Regions from separate parts of the Homo sapiens genome. Here all the other regions are linked to region 1. The links are contacts of gene promoters, found by promoter capture Hi-C in blood cells and fetal thymus (Javierre and others, 2016). All regions are on one chromosome and are shown on one strand. Each heading gives the region's core, a stretch centred on a gene start or on the middle of the fragment in contact. The rest is flanking DNA. Distances are from core to core; before and after follow the strand shown. Region 1 holds the start of RFX3 (regulatory factor X3). Region 2 holds the start of SMARCA2 (SWI/SNF related BAF chromatin remodeling complex subunit ATPase 2). Region 3 overlaps SPATA6L (spermatogenesis associated 6 like). Region 4 holds the start of PLPP6 (phospholipid phosphatase 6). Region 5 overlaps CDC37L1 (cell division cycle 37 like 1, HSP90 cochaperone).

What was found. Contacts are between HindIII fragments. The CHiCAGO score rates a contact against its expected background, and 5 or more counts as called.
Region 2: a contact is called between the fragment with the promoter of SMARCA2 here and the fragment with the promoter of RFX3 in region 1, in 1 of 17 cell types (fetal thymus). The highest score is 5.0, in fetal thymus.
Region 3: a fragment that was not itself captured here is called in contact with the fragment with the promoter of RFX3 in region 1 in 2 of 17 cell types (naive CD4 T cells and non-activated CD4 T cells); the score reaches 5.9 in naive CD4 T cells.
Region 4: a fragment that was not itself captured here is called in contact with the fragment with the promoter of RFX3 in region 1 in 3 of 17 cell types (fetal thymus, naive CD4 T cells and non-activated CD4 T cells); the score reaches 8.8 in fetal thymus.
Region 5: a fragment that was not itself captured here is called in contact with the fragment with the promoter of RFX3 in region 1 in 1 of 17 cell types (naive CD8 T cells); the score reaches 6.5 in naive CD8 T cells.

The regions. Positions count from the first base shown.
Region 1 is chr9:3,523,550-3,528,593 of GRCh38, forward strand. RFX3 (regulatory factor X3) reads right to left here and starts at 2,452. Exons shown (of 17, transcript NM_001282116.2): 1 at 2,198-2,452. LOC124902110 (a long non-coding RNA gene) reads left to right here and starts at 2,936. Exons shown (of 8, transcript XR_007061398.1): 1 at 2,936-3,228. RefSeq lists enhancers at 1,593-2,209, 2,787-2,836, 3,097-3,396 and silencers at 1,897-1,986, 2,417-2,606. The HindIII fragment of the contact is 14,491 bases long and covers 1,074-5,044 here.
Region 2 is chr9:2,011,879-2,016,697 of GRCh38, forward strand. It overlaps SMARCA2 (SWI/SNF related BAF chromatin remodeling complex subunit ATPase 2), which reads left to right and starts at 3,469. Exons shown (of 34, transcript NM_003070.5): 1 at 3,469-3,526. RefSeq lists enhancers at 629-758, 2,969-3,018, 3,079-3,128, 3,915-4,471 and silencers at 3,179-3,518, 4,659-4,819. The HindIII fragment of the contact is 4,329 bases long and covers 2,653-4,819 here.
Region 3 is chr9:4,597,248-4,601,997 of GRCh38, forward strand. SPATA6L (spermatogenesis associated 6 like) reads right to left here. Exons shown (of 12, transcript NM_001353486.2): 12 at 1,069-3,562. Among named protein-coding and RNA genes, the nearest start is that of PLPP6, 63 kb to the right of the region's middle. The HindIII fragment of the contact is 1,919 bases long and covers 1,626-3,544 here.
Region 4 is chr9:4,662,170-4,665,323 of GRCh38, forward strand. The region is part of intron 1 of SPATA6L (spermatogenesis associated 6 like); the gene reads right to left. PLPP6 (phospholipid phosphatase 6) reads left to right here and starts at 125. Exons shown (of 1, transcript NM_203453.5): 1 at 125-3,089. The coding sequence starts at 207. The coding sequence ends at 1,094. RefSeq lists a silencer at 260-519. The HindIII fragment of the contact is 490 bases long and covers 1,660-2,149 here.
Region 5 is chr9:4,685,313-4,690,507 of GRCh38, forward strand. It overlaps CDC37L1 (cell division cycle 37 like 1, HSP90 cochaperone), which reads left to right. Exons shown (of 7, transcript NM_017913.4): 3 at 3,201-3,294. Among named protein-coding and RNA genes, the nearest start is that of CDC37L1, 8.3 kb to the left of the region's middle. The HindIII fragment of the contact is 6,570 bases long and covers 1-5,195 here.

The DNA of each region.
Region 1 (5,044 bases), core at 1,202-3,701:
GTGAAATGCCTCAAAAAAAGTTCTCAGACACTGTAAATAAAATATTAAACCATAACATTATAGTATATAATTTACTTAACTGAAAACCTATTATGTAAATGGCATAAGGTCTGAAACTGTCCCAAGACAGCAAAACTCCTATTAACTTCAGAGAGAGTTTATAGGACCCAGGAGCTTCACCATCCAAAAGTGTTCAGGCATTTGACACTCATCTGAACAGAAAAAAAAATACAAGTTAGTATTAGAGATTTGCATGGAACCCAGTTTGGGGAGAGGAGGAATAATTATAAACAAATCTGAGTGCTCTGAGAAAGACTTCTTTCAGAACAAAATATCGTCTTCATTTAAAATAGCAATCACAAGGAAATGAATTGAAAAAGTTTTTTTAAAATCCCAACTCTTATTTTACAAAATATTAGCCTTAATAGCATTATAATTACCCACCCTGCTCGTTGACAATCTCAAGAATAATTAGTACTGTCACATTATTCACAAGCTGCTGTGTCAGTTAAATCAATATATGTTTGCTGTTAGAAAGAAGACTATTTGAATAAGCATTTTAAAACTGTAAATTTAAAACTTCAATATGTGCAACTACAATAGTACATTATATTTGTTTTAGCACACATTCATTATCAAAACTCTACTGATAAATCTATTAACTAAAAGTTAAGCTGAAAAAAATGAACAAATTTAGGGGATCTGTAAAACTGGGTTAACGTTAACCAAGAACCTACTATATAAGGACTAATAAGTATTCAAATCTACAGAGAAAAATAATTTTTAAAAGAAATACTTAAAAAGGAAAAAGTTCTCTCTCCTGAGCAGGTTCAAGTCACTGTCCAAAGAAAATCAAAAAGTAAATAAAAAGAATATGTTAAGTACACACATGCCTAGATCTTAACCAGAAAGAAAGTGAAATATACACACGTTTCAAGTTGAGAACCTTCATACATTCTTTATGAACTTGACTTGAATTTCAACTCTCAAAGGAAAATGAGGAGATTAAAAAAAAAAAAACTCTTAAAGTACCATAACTGTCACAAATAACACTGTGAACTGAGTTCTCACAAAGCTTCCTTGTGTCCCTTCCCTGTTCATCACAAAGTCTCATAATCACAATGAAAATTGTTAACACTCTACTGCGGGGAAGGAGGATCATCAAAGTGAAACGGAACCTCACTACTCCCCCTCCCACCTCCACATGAAGGATAAAGCACTGTCAATAACTACTAACCCAAGTATCACAGATGCCCTGCATCCGGTTTAAATCACAAGCACACACACACACACACACACACACACACACACACACACACACACACACACCAAAGAAGAGAGAGGAGACAGACTTTAAAAAAGAAAAACATCTTTCCCAGTACAGCAAAGAGGGCCCAACGAACAGGCCCCAGGTTTCAATATGTGTGCAAGGGGTGTGTGGGGGGGGGGAGAAAGAGGGGGAGGGAAGAGTGCTGAATGGATGTTAAGACTGTTTGCCGCACAAAGAAAATACAGTTTTAAAAAGAAAAAAGAAAACCATGAAGCTGATGATGGTGAAAGAAGAGCAGCCCATTCAGCACCAGGCAAAGAGGGGCAAAAATGAAGGGAATGGGCGGTGGGAAAAGTTCACCAACGTATGAGGATTAAAAATAACAAAACCCATAACAAGGCCCCACAAGTGAACAACAACAACAACAAAACACCACCTCTTGGGTCCCCCCCTTGCACACTGTTGTCTATTTCGGCTTTGAAAGAAGCAGGAAACAGCAGCGTTGGAAAAGAAGAAAATTAAAGAAAGAACAAATTCTTATCTCTTCACCTGACCCTCCTCCTCAGACCAGACCTAAGGGAAAGATCCAGCATCCGCATCGGAAAACTGTGGCTCCCTCTCCCGCTCGGCTCGCAGCCCCCCAAGCTCCCGCTCCATCCCTGAAGTGCGGCCGGCGCAGGGCCGGGGCCGGCGGGCGGCGCGGCGCCCACACCCCCGACCCAGCCGCGGCGCGCAGGGTCCATTGTAAACAAGCCCGGGGAACAGAGCCCCTCGGCGGCGGCGCCGCAGCGGCAGCCCCCGTGTCAGGAGTGAGACCCCAGCACAGCCACACTCGGCTCGCACACACGAACACACACACGCACGGACACACGCGTTCACACGCAGCCACACGCTCCCACACACATGTAGAGACCGAAGAATATTCACCTTGGCTGTGGATTATTGTGGTGTTGTTGGTGGGTGATGGAGATGGTGGTGGTGGGGAGGAGGAGGAGGAAGAGGAGGAGGAGGAGGAGAGGAGTAGTTGTTGTTGATGGGTAACAGTCGCCAGGACTACGGTGACTATGGCGCTTGATTCACAAGGCAACGGTTGCTATAACTCACAAAAGAGAGAGAGAGAGGGAGAGAGAGAGAGAGCGAGAGGGAGAGGGAGACACTCGCACGGGGAGGGGTGGGGGAGGGAAGAGGGGAGGAGGCGGGCCCGGCCAAGCCGCCGGAAGGGGAGGGCGCAGCGCTGTGACTGACGGCCCCCAAACCCGGGTGGGGTGGCGGGGCGGCGGGGTGACGGGGCACGAGGCCGGGATTCCACCGCAGGACTCCGAAGAGGTGCGCCTATGCTTGGCTGGGGCTGAGGTCACCAAGAGTCCTCTCGGAGGGACGTTACTACACGCGCTGGCGAGGCCCAGGAGTCGTGGTGCGAGGGGTACTATCTGTGAAACGAGGGCTGCCTGTCCCAGCAGCCAGCTTTGTACAGAGACGTCCCGGAGCCACGAGAGAGTAACGGCTAACCCGGGGGAGGGGGTGGCGAGGGTGATTCCAGGCACTTTGTGAAGAAACGAGCTATGGCGAGGGAAGAATCCACTTTGAAGAGCGGCCCCCGCCCTGCCCGATACGTTACTTCCGGGGCGGGGCGGGCAGAGGGGCCCGGATGTGCCGCCGCTTTTTAGTTTCTGAGGCGCCGGCGGTGTTCCTGGTAGCGTCAGCCTCCTGGCTTTTCCTTTTCCTGGACGCTTCAGGGCTCCGCGGCCTGCGCTAGACTGGAGGGTCCGCGTCACTCTCGCCCTCCTGCTTTCCGCGCTCTCACCCGCTCCCGCCTCCTGAGGGCACGACTTGTGGAGGAGCGCGGGCGGCGGGGCGTGAGCGAGCTGCCTCTGCCGCCATCTTAGAGAAGGCGAGCGTGGGGTGTGCGTGGGCGCGAGTCGGCCTCCCGCGGTGCCGCCGCAGCGTGGCGCGGAGAGGTGAGGTCCAAGCGTGTCCGGCCCTCACTCCATAACGAAAAAGCGAGGTCATCACTCCCTATCTACAAGGGATGGGAGTAAGTGCCTGTAGAGAGCAAGAAATTGCCCTGCCCGGAGGCTGAGAAAGCGCATTTGGCGGTTCCCCTCGACGGAAGGCGTAGAGGGGCGGGGTAGCTTACACCTGCCTGCGATACCATCCTGTTAGTTTCTAGTTCTGTTAGTTTCAGCCCTTAAGTGCTCACCCCTCTTTAAAGACCGAACTGGGAGTTGAGCTCAAGCCCGGATCCTGTTACCTGCCGTGCTCTCATCCCCCGTTACTCAGCCTACTGTAGCTGAGGGTCTTGCTGTTTGTGGCTGTATTGAGATAGACGAATGGCTTCCGTCTGTGTTGAATGTTGTTAACACAACCTGCCATCTCAAACACCCGTTGATAAGGCACAGCCTGTAATGCCTCATGGTTCAAACAGACTCCTCCAATTCTCTGCAGACTCGAGTCCAGCAGGCACATGCCCCCAGGCCCTGCCAATACCCAAAATCTCCCAACATTTGCCGCTAAGCTGCTTAACCAGGACAATGACATAGTAGAAGTAGAGCCTTAGGAAGTCAGTTCTCCTCTTGAGGCTTAATTTTTGCACCTGCAAGTAAGGGATTTGGGCCGGCATGCGTTCACCAGCGCTAAAATAATACTGAGCTCATTCTGTGTCCCAGAACTGGTGCTAAGTGTTTTACATACATTATCTCATGTAATCCCAACAACACCAGTGTTAGGTAATATTCGCATTTGAGGAAAAACAGGCCGAGAGTCCTAAAAGTCGGTGGTTTTAGTTTATGGCTGCGTGCCATAGAATACAAGGTTACCTTGTTTTAGGAACCAGCTACTTTGGGTACGTTTTTAAAAGTAATATTGTTGCCTTTGATAATCTCATGAGTTAGAGATGTTCTTACAATAATAATGTGTTGCAGTAGTGAACAGTGGTGAGCCTAGTGCTAAAGCTAAAAGGTTTCCTGACCCACTGTGGTAGTAAGGGCTTCTAGTCAGACAAATGATTGTGTGGTGACCAGTGTGGGTCCCATTTGACATACAGATGGGAAATGAGGTATACGTTCCAGCTTTATGAAAACTGGTAGTCGTTATGAATATTCTCTTTATTATATTTACTGATAAAGTCCTCATTCCTATAATGGTGTGTAGGGCTGTATGTTCACACTACATGGCTCTCTGAATAGCTTTGTTTTTTTAAATTCCATTGTCTGTTATAGTTTGCCTGTCCCGTCTTTCATTGTCAGCTGTTGCTTTTTATTTTTGTCAGTGAACATAGTTCTATTATCCTTACCGCCCTTTTAATTTATTGCTCTTAATCTGCAGGCAAGAAAACCACATAGTGAACCTTGTGCAAAACTGTATCTCAAGAGTATAAATAGGTACTTCGAGGGACTATTAAAAAATAAGTGCAACCCTTGTGCTAGGACATTATAGAATCAGTTTTAAGCTGCTTAAATTTTTTTTTTTTTTTTTTTTTTTTTTTTTTGCCTTACAGATTTGGTCTTTTCCAGAGTTAGGAATAGATAAATTTCCTGAAGTTAATTCTTGAAAATTTAGAATTTAGAATATTTTCCCATGTTTTAGGATACTTGATGATGATACAATTCTAACCATATTGAGGTTAATATTTGAAATGTTAGTGTTACTGCCTGATAGGGTTTGGCTTTGTGTCCCCACCCAACTCTCATGTGAAATCGTAATCCGAAAGTGTTGAAGGAGGGGCCCTGTGGGAGATGATTGGATCCTGGGGGCAGTTTCTGATGGTTTAGCACC
Region 2 (4,819 bases), core at 2,219-4,718, 1.5 Mb before region 1:
GGTGAAACCCTGTCTCTACAAAAAATACAAAAATTAGCTGGATATGGTGGCGGGCACCTGTAATCCCAGCTAATCGAGAAGCTGAGGTTCGAGAATCCCTTGAACCTGGGAGGCGGCGGTTGCAGTGAGCCAAGATCCCGCCACTGCACTCCAGCCTGGGCAATAGAGCGAGACTCTGACTCAAAAAGGAAAAAAAGAAAAAAGGAGAGAGAGGAGTGTTTATTTCTGTAATAAATTTACTTGTTAATTCTAAACTATTCTTTAAATTAAATGTCAGCTGATTCAATTTGTCAAATCTTGGTTTCCATTACTGAAGATGAAATACTCACTGCCTAAACGGTCTTACCTGCTCGTGTTTGAAGCTAGGCAACATTTCAGGCAGCATTAACAGTTTGTCTGTTGGGACTAGAAGCTTCCTAACGTTGTGCATGGAATTTTTCTTTATGAGGGTGTTGTATCCAGATACCAAGTTTTAAACCCAGTATCTACTCTATACAGAATGTAACCAAAGCAGACTTACATAACAAGTGAATGTGGCCATACAGACATGAAAAAGTGACTTCTATCTTTTGATACCAAACTAGAAAGAGAAAAGCAAGTTCAGAGAACACATTATGACTCATCAAAGTCCAAAAAGAAAAGCTGCGTGTGAACGTAGCACCCTGTGCAGCCTCCTGGAGTCCTTTTACCCTCCAACCACATTTGCTTTTGTATGATTTTCTGCAAAACAAAACAAAAAAAACCCATCATTTTCCTCCTTAACTTCAATTGTTAAATTTCGTTTTACCTCAGAGGTGAAACTCATGCTATATGTTCTACAATCTTCTTTTTGTACCAAGTGAATGACGCTGCCTTTTCATTTCTCCTGTGTTGAGGCCTTATTTTATAAAATTCGTAACTGCTAGGGTACAAACTACAAACAAGACGAATTTTTAGAGGAACAACTTGAAGGGTGATGGGGGAAGGTGGTGCTTTCTTAGACCAATGCGAAGGGAGAGGGAGATGCAATATCTATATTTAATCTCTGTTCCCAACGATGTATTTTAATTCCCATAGCTGTGTGTATACAATGCGTGGATACCAACGCCTCCAAGGACAACATCAAAATTTTATATGAGCTGAAGAATATACACATATAACAAAGGGAATGTTTTCTTCTTTACTTTCCCTGTGACAAAATGCCAGAAGGAATGGACAGTTTCTTTCTCCAGGGACTTACTAATTGATTTGTTTTTGTTTTTGTTTTTTTGAGGATTTGCATGGCAAGTGGAAGTAGAATCTTAAGGGGATAAAGGGCATTTATTCACAAGGGAATAAAAGTGAAGTTATCAATTTCTGAAAATTGGCATGTGAGGCCGGCATGCCAGAGAAACAAATTAGACCCCAAAAAAATTAAAACCTAATACTCTCAATGTAATAAGCATTGCTATTAGGTTAAATCTCTTTATTAGAGACAGGTAGGTTATCTGGCTATATTATTAGTTGCGACTTATTAGGCAGTTAGAAGTTAGTATTTATGTTACACTTTTACTATACTACTAGTCTTGTTTAAAATTTCTCCCTATATATTTCTCAGTTAATAGTTATACCGGCATATCCTCAGGCAGAAAAACAAGTTCTTACAATGGATCCTTCAGGGCACACTATATTCTATTTCTCTTAGCTGTGTTATCTTTCGTTGTCTTGAGGTTCACTTCAAGATAGACAGAAAATGATGAAGCTAAAGTTAACAAGCAAGTAGCAAGACCTTAGAAAGCTATAGGGTGGGTGATCACCAACACTCCCAGCCATCATGAAAATGCTGCCCTAGTGGGCTCTGCTTCAGCCAGCAGTGGACCAGTGATATAAAGAATTCTTGCTTCTTAATGACTACATGGCAGTATTTGGCGTTCTTTCCATTACTTCTTGTCTTCAACTTATCCAGCCTGAAGTTTTAAGCATCCTAGAACTGCATTTCAGACCCAGTTGCTCAAATGGAGTCAATTTTGCAACAGTAAAATGGTCTTAAAATAGGATTTTACTCTAGGGGGAAGAATCCTCAACCAGATAGTCACAGTGCACTTTGAATGACTAATTTAAGCCATTACATTACGAAATAAGGGATAAATCATACTTTTCATAACACTACTGCATAGGAACAGTTTTAAGAGTCAAGCATCTACATTAATCTGAGTCTAAAATAATAGGCCCCTGATTTAAAGTCTCCTAACATTCTTTCACACTTCATAAAACTAAAAATAAAATTGTCTCACCAAACACCGACCTATTGGTCCGGCCAAAGTACTGTATTTCAAGGAAAATTGGAGCAAAGAGGTCTCAAAACCGCGACTTGCCAGCAAATTACAATTTGCAGCCTTAATTGGTCTCAAATGCGGGGTGAGAGGGAAGAGACTACGGTCTGTAGAAAATAAGAGATTTATTCCCCTTTTTAAATCAAAACCAGATTCCATGCTTCAGCCGCCCCCTAACCCGCCAGCCCCGCCCCCAGGGTTTGTTTTTCCATATTTTTGTATATATTTTAGCGAAGATGGCAGGTGAGGGAAGGTTATAGTGCTGTACCTAGTCCACGAAGTAAACAGAGAGGTTAGGGTGGGTTTACTTATTTATAAGGCGTTCAGCCTCTCAGCTGTTTCTCCCTCGTTGGCATTTGGAAGCTTGCAGTCCTTCAGGGAAGAGACAGATTTGGCAGGAACGTTCTTTGTGCCCGCCTCCCTTTTCTATTTTTTATTTTTTTACCTGGAATAGGGGGCAGATTTATAATGACAGCCTTAGGGAAGGGGGAGAAAAAGTTTCAGCCGGCACGACAATGCCCGTTTTTTCCACAGTCCACACTGTGCCACAAACAGCTTTGGTGCCACTCGGAGCCCGTCCCCCGTCCCCTCCCTCTCTCTCTGCAGGCTCGCACTGGCAGGCGGAGGCACAGTTAAATTCCAGCACCTTCTCCACATACCCCCGAACTACTACGCGCTATTACTACGGCTGCCCTCCGTTTTCGCTTCGCCTCCTCCCCTTCCGCAGTCTCCCTGGAGGAGCCCCGCGGCGCCCGAGGAAGAGGACTGCCAGGGAAGGGACAGCGGGCGCCCAGCTCCAGCAGGGCTTGGGGCTTTCTGCATCCCGCGCAGTTTCTCTGCTCCAGGCACAAACGCGGCCCGAGAGCCGGCGCCTTGCAGTCACACACGGATCCACGCATACAGTAGAGCTGTCTAGATCCACATTCTTGCACACCGCCCCCTCCTCCCCCCGCGCTCCCGGAGTCGCTGAGCTGAGCGAGTGACAGGCGCGTCCCGCCAACCCGCGCCCGGACGGGCAGGGAGGAGCGGCGCGCGGGGCCAACTGCGGCGCGTCTTCCGGCGCCCGCGGAGGAGGCGAGGGTGGGACGCTGGGCGGAGCCCGAGTTTAGGAAGAGGAGGGGACGGCTGTCATCAATGAAGTCATATTCATAATCTAGTCCTCTCTCCCTCTGTTTCTGTACTCTGGGTGACTCAGAGAGGGAAGAGATTCAGCCAGCACACTCCTCGCGAGCAAGGTAAATATAACTTACAACTCTTTTCTCCTCTTTCCCCTCCCTTCGGCCGCCCCGCTGCAGCCGCCGCTCAGACCCCTCCGGCACCACGCCGCCTTCGCCCGGGATTATCCATTATTATCCTAATTATTATTTATTGTGCATGCAAGGAGACCAAAACAAACAGGCGGGCCAACCGCCGCGACAAAAAAAAGCCCGCCTCCTCCCCGCGGGCCTCAGGTGGAATGCTCTAACGACAGCTCCCAGGCGGCGGTGGAAGAAACGAGAAAGTTTCAACCGAACCTTGCTGTTCTAATAATAACAGTAATAATTACTACTTCAAGGGGGCAAAGGAGGAAAAAAATCCCAACAAGCCACAGCCTTGATCCTGAGTGGGCAGTCAGAGGCGCTGCCAACTCAAGGTTGCAACACACACATTGGGCCAGGTTGCAATCCCCCCATCCCCTTAAAAGTGAGGCGGCGGGGAGGGGGGTGGCCGCAGGAGGGGGAAGGCCTGGGGGACAGGGGAGGAGGATGGAAACGCTACTGTTCATCCCGGGCAACCCTCCCCGGAAGAGTTGGAAGGGGAACGGGAAAGGAGGGCGGGGAGCCCAGGCTGGCGGCGGGGCGCCAACGGACGCTGTTGCCACCCGCTTCCCAGGGACTTGTTCAAAGGGCTCCGGCTGCGGAGACGTGAGCGGATCGCAGCGGGAGAAGCCTGAGCTGACGCGCGAAGGAGGTAGCGGCCACTGCCGCGGGGCCGGTGCGTGCCTGATCGGAGGTGTCACCTCCACTTTCCGCGTTTCCTCCGGCGTGGATGGGGAGGCTGATTGGTAGGCAGGCCTTTAGGCAAAGGGGCTGCCAGGGGGCTGCGCCCCGGGCGCTGCGGACGTCCCTGCCTCTGGTACCTGGCGGCAGCGCAGGCTCGGGTGTTAAAGTTCGGGATGTCCGGCCCGGGCCGCACTGCTGGAGGGAAGGGAGGAGGCCCCCAAGGAGGTCGGAGGTGCCCGCCAGCCTCCGTTACCCTGCCCTCCCTCTCCCCGGGTCCGTGTTCTTTTGCTTCGCGTCTTCCCCTTGCTTGCGCCGCGGGAGCTGCGGGCGTGGGGCGCCTGCGATCGTCCGGGTGCTAGGGGCGCGCCGGGACCCAGGAGAGCCACGGCGGCGGCTGCGGGCCCGGGAGGCCATGATCCGGATAATCCTGTCTGCCTGACTGTCACAAACAGGACCCGCGCACCACCGGGCAGCGGCGGTGTGGTTCGCCCGGGAAGGGGAAGGGCTGCGGTGGGGAGGGAATAGGGGGGTGGCGAGGGCGGGAGG
Region 3 (4,750 bases), core at 1,335-3,834, 1.1 Mb after region 1:
TCAAGACCAGCCTGGTCAATATAGGGAGACTCCTTCTCTATTTTTTATATATATAAAAAAAGAAAACAAAATACACACACACACACACACACACACACACACACACACACACACACACACACGGTGGGGCGTGGGGGGTGAGGTGGGCGGAGCTAATGGATCACTCTAAAAGACGCAGAATCCCAAGGAAAAATTTTGGACTAGAAACTCCTCATTTTGTTGAAGAAGCTCCATCAACTCAGCCATCAAGAAAAGGACCCATCTGCACCATGTAAAAGCTCCTGTCCTAGACATGACCCTGTTTTGACCAAATTCCCTATGTGAAATTAAGCATAGGTTCTTTCCTTTGATAAACAAAGTAACTTCATTGCCATAATTTGGTGCCCCTAGATTCAGTGTGGAGGATGGGGCTCCCAGGCCAAAGGAGCAAAGGGTTGGGGCTCTCATCACTGTTGGCAGGGTTCCCAGCACAAGGGAAGAGAGAAGAGGTCTCCCTAAGACCTGCAGGTCCGCTAAGTAGTGCTAGGAGGGGTCCCCTAACCAGAGAAAGACAGCAGTCCCATCCGGTGGTACTAGTGGGTTCTCTGGTCACAGCATGGACTACAGAGCATATCCTGTTCCTCAGGCTGCCCTCCAGAGAGCCCAGCGGGCTCCTTTGATGGACCAACTCAGGGGAGTACTGGCTATACTGAGAGTAGCCTGGCATTTGGGTGCTAGGGCTGAACTCACACACATACCCATCAGTCTTCTCAAATTACACCTAAAACCCGCCACCTCTTTTATGTCAAACATATCATTTGCACTCTCATTTTTTAAAAATCTCTTTTATAATTCATGGCCTACAGGCTTCAGCTAACTTTGGGTCAGTCAGGTGACCACAGAGAACTGGCCTCATTGTACAGCAGCTTTTGTTTGGAGGGCCTAGGTTCCACAAAGGAGATTTTCTTAGGAGCCTCTGCAAACCAAGACCCCATGAAACATGCCCATAAAATATGCTCCAGGCTTTGACAGATCTGCAACCATAAAAATCAAGAAAGGAATTATAAACTGAAGCAAGACAGATGGGAATTCTTTTTATGATGTTTAATGACACAGATCTTCCCAAAGTAATCCAAACCCCAAAACATCACAAAATTATTCATACTATTATACACTCCAAAAGCAAAATACTTCAACTGCAATCCTTGCCCCAGCATGATTCCTCAAAATTGAGATAACTCCTTGAGAAACAAAAGTAAAAATAATAATAATTTAAGGAATAGAGTTAATAGATGCAAAAGTAAAGGGAAAAAAAGCGTAATTTAGTGTGAAAACCAAAAATGACTTTAAATAAGAATGGGCATTTAAGATCTTATTAAAGAGTTATGCTTAAACCATTTCAAAAAACACTGAATATTGAATGTCATGGTGTATATTTTAACAATAACTGAAATGGGATACCAATTCATTAGTGCTGCTTTCCTTTAGCTGCTTACGTAAGCAGCCCTCTCCTGAGACTTATAGCGTAACCTTAATGTAACACAATATTTTCTTACTTTTGATGACTACTTAGAGGTAACATCAAAACAACAAATTGACAACCATAGTTTCAGAGAGACTGAGAACATATTAGCATATGTAATTTAAGCTTGCTGTTGGCCTTGCCAAGGTGGAATGCTGGTTGTGATACAGGTTGAGTCTCCCTTATCTTCAGTGCTTGGGACTGACCAGAAGTATTTTAAACTTGGGTTTTGGTTTTTGTTTTTGTATTTTGGAATATTTACATAAACACAATGAAGTATCTTCAGGATAGGGGATAGGACCCAAGTCTAAACACGAAATTCATTTACGTTTTATATACACTTTATACAGGTAGCCTGAAGGTAATTTTATACATGATTTTAAATAATTTGGAGCATGAAACAAAGTTTCGAATGCATTTGACTGCACCCTGCCACATGCAGTCAGATGTGGAATTTTTCACTTATGGTGTTATATTGGTGCTCAAAAAGTTTTGGATTTTGGAGCATTTCAGATTTCAGATTTTTAGATTGGGAGGTTCAACTTGGATATACCTTTATTTGGCTGAAATTCTAAGAAGAGGATAAATGAATTTTGTTTTGTTGTTTTTGTTTTTGGAGTTCCTTTTCTGTTTTAATTTTTAATTTCATTTTCTTAATTTACCTAATGAACCAATCCCTATGATTACAGTGAGAAAAGAAAACTTGGCTCTCACTGAATCTTCTAAAAACTGAACAAGTTTTAGGGTAGTGTCTTACTCTATTCAGGCTGCTATAACAAAATGTCATAAACTGGGTAGCTTACAAACTACAGGAATTCATTTCTCACAGTTCTGGAAGCTGGGAAGTCCAAGATCAGAATGTTGGCAGATGCAGAATCTGGTGAGGGCCCTCTTCCTGGGTCAGAGATGGCGCCTTCTCGCTGTCTCCTCGCCAGTGGAAGGGGCAAACGAGCTCCCTTGAGCCTATTTATAGGGCACTAATCTCATTTATGAGGGGTCCACCCTCACAACCTCATCACCTCCCAAAAGGCCCCATTTCCTTAGAGGTTAGGATTTCAACATACAAATGTTGAGGGGACACAAACATTCACACTATAGTAGGGCTGGTAGAGGAAAATGCTATGCTTACACTATGAAGGAGGGAAATAAGTTTCCATTTTCAGGCCCCTCTTCTCTGGGTCTGTATCAATGAAGACAAATGTGCCTCTAGTCTCCCTTTATCCCAGCCCCTTCCTATTCCTGCTCCCTCACACTGTGTAAGCATTTCATAGATGCACCTTCCTAACTAACTTTAAAACCTGGCATTGGCAGTCCTATCTGTAGAACCTATTTACTTAATGTGTAGTTCTTTTGGAGAAATATTTGAGGAAGGTTTTGTTCCTCATCTAAATTTACAAAGAATTGCTGGAACGAAGGAGTAGGAAACAGAAGGAGCAGTTTAAACTACGCTCCAGAGGAGCCAGCCTCCTCTTACAAATTTATCACAGACATTCAACATCTAAAACAAGATCTGAACTACCCAGACGTAATGCTCTCTTTTCCAAGGTTTTTAGTGGACTTCACGTAAATCAAGCCTAACACTAAGAAATAAACAAACAACAACAAAAACGGATCTACCGAAAAGAGAAAGTCAGGTTGATAGTCTTTCCTGGAGGATTTATCAGGTTATTCCTGTGAATAGCAACTTCCTCTAGCTCATATATAATTAATTTGAGAGAGAGAGACAGAGAGAGCCAGAGAGAGCCAGAGAGAGAGAGAGGGGAAGTGTTCAGATAAGCACCTGCCACCCAACTACAGCGCTTTCTCTTTCATGTTCAAAACAAACATGCAAAAACACAAATTTTCCAGCTTGACAAGAAAATGTTAGCCCCCAAACAGCAAACACTTTAATCAACAACTCTTACCTGGGCACAAAAGACTGAGTACAGGGTTTGGTTTAAAGGGGATTAGACATCAGTGACTCAACACAGACAACAAAAAGTGTTCATTTCTTTAAGGATGCTTCAATTGTCTCAGTGAGTGAGCTCTTCATGATTCTCCTTAAGCTTTCATTAATTTCCCCTGCAAAATTTGAAACATCACATTCTACATGTGGTATTGAGAAAAAGGCAAACAATCAATACAAGTAAGGAGAAAAAGATAATGTCATACTACCCCAATCTTGGCATGTAGCTATGCCTTGGGATCACTTAGTCTCTGAGCTTTTTCCCCAGATTCCCACAACAGAATAACCCAGTGAGCATCTGTGTGACCTTGGACAATTTACTTGACGTCTTTGTAAAATATCAGGATGATGACAGAGTATCTACCTCTTACTATTATAGTGAAGAGTTAGCATTGCTACATAGTAAATGTGCCAAAATAGGTGTTATTCAGTTGAGCTGTTAAACGTGTTCCAATTAACTATATTCTACTGAACAAATTTCCTTCCTTCCTTCCCTTCCCTCCTTCCTCCCTTCCTTCCTTCCCTCCCTCACTCCCTTCTTTCTTCCTTTCTTTCCTTTCTTTTTGATGGAGTCTTGCTCTGTAATTTGGCACTGCACACTGGGGGCCGGGATTTCACGGCAATTATGCCTTCCAAGAGAACTAGGGATAATCTGAGGGGTTTCTTTACGGGAGGTTTTTTTTTTTGTTTGGTTTTTTGGATGTTTGGTTTTTGTGTGGTAAAATTCACCAATTTTAAATATACAAGGGATACTCTGTTTATACCAAAAGTACCAAGTCCCAAAAGATCCAGAAATAGATGTATTCCAACCCCTTCAACCCATTTCTTCCACCCATTCTCTCCCTCTACGTGGTCAGACAATGGGACTCATTGTTTTTGGCTCAAGAATCCCTGACCTTTTTGTGGTAAGAATCTACTTTTTCATCTCCCTGAGATCTCGAGATCGCTGGGGAGCCAGGACCTGGCAGTGAAACAGATATGGAGAAGGGGAGGGACAGGAATTGGTGCTGCCATTAGAAGAGAGTCCTCAAGAAAAGCCGGGACTGGGACACGTAGTGGGAGCCACTGGGTTGTGTGTGGGGGATGCCTCCTGCCTGGGGTCTGTCCTCCCAACCCACAGGAGTGGCTCTGGCTGTCCTGTTCTAGCTATTTGATCTTGCCTGTTTGGATCTTTCCTGGACTCACTGAGATGGATGCTCAGCATCTTTCAAATAAATGCCCCGTTTGCTTAAGACTAGCCAGAGTCACTTGGGTTTTTCACAATCACTAAAGCTTCACTAAAATGACCCTCCAGGATCCCAGCC
Region 4 (3,154 bases), core at 655-3,154, 1.1 Mb after region 1:
CTCCCAACGCCAACATCCTCCCCTCTGCTCTCCTCACATTGGAAATTCCAACTCCCTCCCACGTCTCCACCAGGTGTCACAATCGCGCTCTCGCCGGCTCCTCTCCCCGCCCCTCCGGGATGGTAGTGCGGAAGCGGAAGAGGCTGCAGGGCCGGGAAGCCTCTGTTTGGTCCGGCCAGGTCCCGGGATCCGGGCCGCCAGCTGCGATGCCAAGTCCCCGGAGGAGCATGGAGGGACGGCCGCTGGGCGTCTCCGCTTCGAGCAGCAGCAGCAGCCCCGGCAGCCCAGCCCATGGCGGCGGTGGCGGCGGCAGCAGGTTTGAGTTCCAGTCCCTGCTCAGCAGCCGCGCCACGGCCGTGGACCCCACCTGCGCCCGGCTCCGTGCATCGGAGAGCCCAGTTCACCGCCGCGGCTCCTTCCCCCTGGCCGCGGCGGGCCCCTCGCAGTCGCCCGCGCCTCCGCTGCCCGAGGAGGACCGCATGGACTTGAACCCGTCCTTCCTGGGCATCGCCCTGCGCTCCCTGCTGGCCATCGACCTGTGGCTGTCCAAGAAGCTGGGGGTGTGCGCGGGAGAGAGCTCGTCGTGGGGCAGCGTGCGACCCCTTATGAAGCTGCTGGAGATCTCGGGACACGGCATCCCCTGGCTGCTGGGCACCCTCTACTGCCTGTGCAGGAGCGACAGCTGGGCCGGGCGCGAGGTGCTGATGAACCTGCTCTTCGCCCTGCTGTTGGACCTGCTGCTGGTGGCCTTGATCAAAGGGCTGGTCCGCAGGCGCCGCCCGGCCCACAACCAGATGGACATGTTTGTCACTCTCTCGGTGGACAAGTACTCCTTCCCCTCGGGCCATGCCACAAGGGCCGCCCTGATGTCGAGGTTCATCCTGAACCACCTGGTGCTGGCCATTCCACTGAGGGTGCTGGTGGTTCTGTGGGCCTTCGTCTTGGGCCTATCCAGGGTCATGCTGGGGCGGCACAATGTCACCGACGTAGCTTTTGGCTTTTTTCTGGGCTACATGCAGTACAGCATCGTGGACTATTGCTGGCTCTCACCCCATAATGCTCCGGTCCTCTTTTTACTGTGGAGTCAACGATGACACCATCTCATTGATTATGGCACCAGGAAGTCTGAAGGTTTCCACATTCGATGATGTCAACCTAAACCAGCAGCCATCCCGCTTGTCCCTCTTAGGCATTTCAGGCTTCCTTTGGGATTTCAGGTGTCCCATGATCTTGATGTGCTGCTAGGCTGGAGCACACACTGGCCATTACTGAACACAGCCATATTAGGGAAAGCAAAAAAACCCAAAAAATCCTCTATTGTATATTTATTCAACAACTGTTTATGTTTCCAGGACAACTGCAAAGAAAACAAGCTGAGGTGGTTATACTGTTGCTGTTAAAAGTTGGTATCAGTAAGATTTGTGTTTTGTGATAATCCCTAAATCAACATACCACTTGTAAACTGAACTTCGAGAAAGAAACATGATGTTCATTCTGTAAATATACATGCAGACAGGTCATGTACTAATCCTAGTCCTTTTCCTGAGGTAGATTTTAAACAGTATTTTTAAAGTCCAAGACATAGGTTTTTCTAGTTTATTCCCTGAAGATCTGTTGCCACAGTTGGGAGATTTCTTCTTAATCCTGATTTTCTTGGTAAGCTTTTTTACTTTATTATCTCTATAATTTATTATCTCTATCCATATTTGTGGATCGGGTAGTGGGAAAAGAGATTATAATACTTGTCTTTCTCTCCTCTCCCTCCATCCCTCAAAAGATCTTTATGCATTTCCCACTACTCCCTTACTGTCTTTTAGCATTCAGAGAAAAAGCCAACTTGCTTAAAGAGGAATCACTTAAAAGGTAGGCATATCTAAGATGCTCATAGAAGAGGAAGAATGGGACATGGCCCCATGCTTATTTTTGTTTACAACGTAACATGGCATGAGAGAGGGCAGAGAAACTAAGTTGCTGGGGAAAGTTAGAGGAACTGAAAGTTTGGGAATAGGCTGACCACATATTATGCCAGTGACCAGTATGACAGGAGATGGGGCCCTGCTGCCAGTCATCTCCACTGAATAAAGAATAATGCTCCTCTTTCAGGGTAATAAAGTGGGGAAAAGGAACGTCTTCTCAATGCAAGAACATAAGCTTTCTCGTATATACCTGTATGCTACAGTTTTTCACATGGAATTCCGTTTTCTGAGGTACAGCACATTTTAGGTAACAGTATTTAACTTGAAATTCATCATGGGAGTCTGCTGCTATACCAGGCACAAGATAAAACTCCAAAATTTCTGTTTACATTGACCTTTACATTTAAAGCTGTTCATCCATGGTGCCTCCCCAAATCATAAGACCAAAGACCACCAAACGCAGGGTGGACTCTGCTCATTATTCTTTGACCCAGAAAGACTGGAGAAGGTATGTGCTTTAAGTGCTGCTCTACCTGAAAAGAAATCCTTTAAATTACCTATGGAAGTGATGTCCTCAGATAATCTTAATGACTATTTTGGCATTTATAAATAGAAATGATTATGGACTTTGATCTGCCATACGGAGGTTCGGAACCTGGAGAACGGCTGTGATAAGTAGGTTTTGATTGAGTGAAAGCATGAGCTTGTTCAGAGTGAGGGGCATAGTGAAAAAGGAACAGCCATGCCTCAAAATCAAATCATTTGCATTCCCACAGCATCCTGAATACCGACTACCTCTTCACTTGCTAAAGCAGCTAAACTGTGAAGCTCTAAGTGGTTTGGGTTTGTTGTTTAACCTTAGCGAGATCCTTTAACTGCAGCAATATTCAAGCCAGATATTTGGAAGCAAATGATATTTCCTCTTGCAGTGTCCACAAATCTGAATATTAGGGGCATGAAATTAGGCTTACCATCTGATTTGTAATTACAATTTTGGAATTCTCTGTTTTAGTTGCTGAGGCCTGAGTTTTCTGGCTCTTAAAGCATAGATCATTTCACCTGATGTTTTTGAAGCATCCTAAGTACAGTAGAGTAGAAAACTGATTTCTTTGTTAATTGTACACTGAATAATGCCTTTTAAAAATCAAAATAAAATTAACAAATAATGGTGAATGAAGTGAGATGAAAACTTGCTTAATTTTTGCCTTGATGAGGAGGGAGACAGATTTATCACTTAG
Region 5 (5,195 bases), core at 1,269-3,768, 1.2 Mb after region 1:
AAAGTCTCAAAGCTCTTGCTGTAGAGCTGCAGACTCCAGGCAGTTAAGTGACCAGACTGAAATACATATTTATATAAATGTACTGCTGAACAAATATTACATATATTAAAAAACATTCACAAGAATTTGATATAAGGATGGGAAAATATATCAGTTATGAAATATTTTCCTCCACATATATTTTGTACCCCCTACACTGATTATCACTACTTTAGAGTTCCTTTAATGCAACTACCTTCTTTTTATAAATGAAGAAACTAAGTGGAAAAATAAGTAGAGTGACTTGATAACTTAGTGGTGGGTTAAATGTGAGAAATTCCTGACTCTGGGATTGAGAGATAAGATAAAGAGAAGTGTTGAATATCCTTTATTAAGTGCCTTTAAGAATGAAGGCTTAGACTTTTAAAATCTCATGTTTTTCAAACTTCAGGGTTTTATACCTCAGTTTTCCATTTGAAAACTAGAGTTTTTAGCGATTGATTTTCAAATGCATGAAAAGGGGAGAAAAGGCAAAACTTCATGAACTAGTATTTTAAATGTGGAATAAAATGATATTTATTGAAAAATAGGCCAGGCTTAGTTGTCCACACCTGTAATCCCAGCGCTTTGGGAGGCCAAGGCAGGCAGATCACTTAAGTCCAGGAGTTCAAAACCAGTTTGGTTGACATGATGAAACCCTGTCTCTATAAAAAATACGAAAATTAGCTGAGTATGATGGCATGTGCCTGTATTGCCTTAGTCCCAGCTACTTCGGAGGCTGAGGCTTGAGGATTACTTGAACCCAGGAGGTAGAGGTTGCAGTGAACCGAGATCGTGCCACTACACTCCAGCCTGGGCAACAGTGAAACACATCTCAAACTTCTTAATTGTCCTCTTGGCATCTGCTTTCACCCACTCTCATGAACTTTTTTAATTGCCTTTCCCTGGACCAGCTCTAGTTCTGCTACAGCAGTCAGTAACACACACAGATAAGTGTACATCGCCACTAGCCCTATCAGTACTTTAACAGTGAGTCATATCTTTCTCGACTTTCTCTGTGCCTGTACTAATTTATATATACTTTTTCTCCCCCTCCACAATGGGATCATTCTTTATCTGAGTCATTTGCTATATCTGTATATATTGTTTTAAGGGGTGCATCTTGTGTTATTTTCTGTTCTGCATTTATATCCCAAAACTATTGAAAATAATTTTTTTTCTTCCAGAAGGAATGTTCAAAGTAATATTTCTTGTTTTGTAAAGTTAATGTCTCTTCTTTAACACAGTGGTCACAAAGAAAATATTTTCATTTTGTCTCTGCTTTTAATTATTTCTTTAAACTTAGGTTCTAAGGTTCTAAGACAGCCTACATTTATCTCACAAATTAATTAGGACTATCTTTATGTTCCAGTCATTTGCTCAAAATCCTACACTGGTTTTGTCTGGGAGCTTGAGACTTGAGAGGACTGGTCTAGATCTGCACTATCCAACTTGATAGCCACTAGCCACATGTGCTATTGAGTGCTTGAAATGTGGCTAGTCCGAATTGAGATGTGCTGTAAGTGTAAAATACACACCAGATTCCAATGATGTAGTGCCAAAAAAAGTAAAATATTAATAATTGTTTTGTATTGCTTACATGTTGAAATGATAATAGGCTGGATATGTTAAGATAAATAAAATAATTTATTAATGTCATCTGTTTCTTTTTGCTTTTTAACGTGGCTAATAGAAAACTTTAAATTACATTTGTGACTTGGATTGTATTTCTATTGGACAGTGCTGGTCTAGATGTCAGACTGCATGAAGAAAAAATCTTTTATTTTGAAATATGTAAACTTTTGAGTGCTTCCTGATTATAAACTGGCAGTGATCTAGTTTGCAATTTTTATTTTTGGCAGTGATGATAACGGGGTATAAATATGATCACAGAATGTTCTAAGAAACTTCTGCCAGTTTTTCTAGCTAGATACAAACTTTATTCTTGGTATATTTTATGACTTATTTAACTGAAAATAAGTACTTCCTTAATAGAAATTTGTACTTGACTTTAAAAATCAAACTGTTTGGTCTCTTCTAAGAAGTTTATTAGAAATGCAACAAAGGGCCAGGCACAGTGGCTCATGCCTATAATCCCAGCACGTTGGAAGGCCAAGGTGAAGGGATTGCTTGAACCCACGAGTTCAAGACCAGCCTGGGCAACATAGCAAGACCACGTCTCTACAAAAAATTTAAAAATTAGCTGGGTATGGTGGCTCACACCTGTAGTCCCAGCTACTCTGGAGGCTAAGGTGGGAGGATCACTTGACCCCAAGAGGTTGAGGCTGCAGTGAGCTATGATTGTGCCACTGTACTCCAGCCTGGGTGACAGAGCAAGACCCCATCTCAAAAAAAAAAAAAAAAAAAAAAAGACACGCAACAACAACAGTCTATTTCTTGTTTATGTCTTAATAAAGAATTTACGGTAAATATCATTTATTCTCTATGTGCTTTGAATTTCTGAGTTTATTTCCAGCAAGAACTCGAAAGATTAGGCAAGAGTTGCAAATATTTATAGGAATTAAATAATGCACAAGTAAACTATGCATATAAAATATAAAGGATGTTTCTATACCTGCTTTTAATTGGGAAATTCAGCTTACCAAAAAGGTTAATTCAGTTGTTTTTCTGTATGATTTCTAAGATGAACCTATATCCACACATATATCGTATGTATTTTTTTGTGAGATGGAGTCTTGTTCTGTCGCCTGGGCTGGAGTGCAGTGGCATGATCTCAGCTCACTACAACCTCTGCCTCCTGGGTTCACGCAAGATTCTCCTGCCTCAGCCTCCCGAGTAGCCGGGATTACAGGCATCCACCACCATGCCCAGCTATTTTTTGTATTTTTAGTAGAGACGGGGTTTCACTATGTTGGCCAGGCTGGTCTTGAACTCCTGACCTCGTGATCCACCCGCCTCGGCCTCCCAAAGTGCTGGGATTACAGGCGTGAGCCACCACACCCGGCCTCATACATCATTTTAAACAAAATTAATAAGACTCCCATACAAGAAAATTTTAATTTTTAAAAATAGTTTACCAGATGAATTTAATCATGTAATATCAGTATGATACTATACCACATATATTGTCTATAGGAAGAATTGCTAGATATTCAGTATCTGAGAAAGAAGATTCAATTAGAATTTAAAATCTGATTTAAATTTCTAAAATTTTTTCTTAGAGTTTTATTAATCAAGATAAAAGAAAAGACACAGAAGATGAAGATAAATCAGAATCATTTATGCAAAAATATGAGCAAAAAATCAGACATTTTGGTAAGTCTACTACTTGGATTTCCTTCTTTGTAATGTTTGGTATCATATGTACATGTGCAAAAAATGGATTTATAAAAAGAGAGCCAAAAAGAAAAGTGGCAAACTCCAATTTTGTAGCTTCTGGCACAGCTGTATAGATCTTGTTTTAGAATTTTTTTTTTTTTTGGTTATAAATAAAATTAATTGACAGAGCAAACCAAATGGTAAAGAGAAGCAAAAGTATTATTATATAGTGTACTACCTTTAAGACAACTTTATGTATTCCATAGCCTCTTTCCATTTCCTAAGTAGTCTTTGCTTTTTTCTTTTTCCTCTTTGCTTCCTTGGAATCTGATTATCTTATGTTTTAAAGATTATTCATTTTTTTTCAGGTTTTGGATATGATGCTTTATAATTCAGGCAGATCCTTGAACTGTTACTCAGATAAATATAGTAATAGAAATGTATATATAAAGAACTGAAAAATAGGTTTTTTCTATTGGGGAAAAAGGGTAAGAGGGGGGTTGATACAAGTGAAGGCTTCCCAGAGGAGCCAGCATCTGAGCTTGATTTCAAGGAACAGATAGGAGTTTTTCATGTATAAGGGAGGCAAGCCAACAGCAACAGCATGAGACGGGCAGTTAGGAAACAGCATGGTGTGTTCTGAGAATTATAGGCAGCATGATACCGCTGGCATGAAAATGCTGCTGGGAAGTGTTAGGAGTTAAGGTTTAAAACTTTTTTTTTTTTTAATTCCAAGTAGTATGTTAATTTAGTAAACATGGTTTTTATTTGTAATATGTTCATGAACTTTTTACATGGCATTTTGAAATCTTTTTCCTGTTGGTGTTTATTTACCCAACGTTTTTTGAATTTCGTTTATGCTTCAGTTATGTCAATATAATAAATATTACTTTAAATTTTTTCCCTTCCTTTTATGTAATTTATTCGTAAAATATTCACTTTGCTCATACTTTTCATTTTAAAGAAAGAAAAAAGACTGTGTTTAACTAAAAAATAGTACCCAAGGAAATAAAGACAAAGTTTTTCTACATATAATCAATGTGGTATTATTTATAATGGAAAAAAAATGAATACACAGGCCTCCCTTGGACAGATAGTAAAATCTTAAAATGAGCAGAGCCTTGAGTCATAAGGATAGAAAGCAAAAAATTTGCACATGAATCTTAGTTGTGATATGTGAATTGCCACTCCCGCCTACAGTCCTTGCTTTCTAGGCCCATGTTTTGCTGCTGAAGGAAAAATAGTACCATATACTGATTGCTCTTTCAGAGCATGTACTGCATCTGGTGAAACAACATTCCTCAAGGTGTTTTCACCCAGCTGGCACTCTGAAAGTTGGTTGCTTTGAAGCCATGAGAAACCTAGTAAATGAGAAGCAGTTCTTTCACTTTTGCTGTAAGCTGAGTGCCTTGTTCAGAAGCAATTTTGTGTAGGAAAATATCCAAATATCACAAAGTGTTGTAACCCATCTGGCACTATGTATCTTCAGCATTTTATAAAACCTGCTTCTGGGTAGTGATGTTCGTGATGAGAACAGTGAATTTCATGAACCCTACAGTCTTCATTTCTTTTGCTGTAAAATGAGTTTCTGGGTCAAAAAATAGTGTGGTATGGTGAATAATTCATTTAGTAAGACTACAGATGTATTACTGATTAGAAGCATGGCAAGGAGGGAGGGCACTTCCACATCTAGAGTGGGCTCGTTCAAGTGAGGAATTACCAGTCCCTCTGAGATGAAGTGGGACCAGGGTAGTCAACCTGCTACTTGATGGCTGGCTGATCTCTGCAGTGCATTGTGCCGTATTGAGATTTTGGTGTTTTTCGCTACTAGTAAATTAGGTGTTCAGTGGCTAAACTGGATTAGGATACTAGAACATCCTTGAGGGGAGAGTCTACAC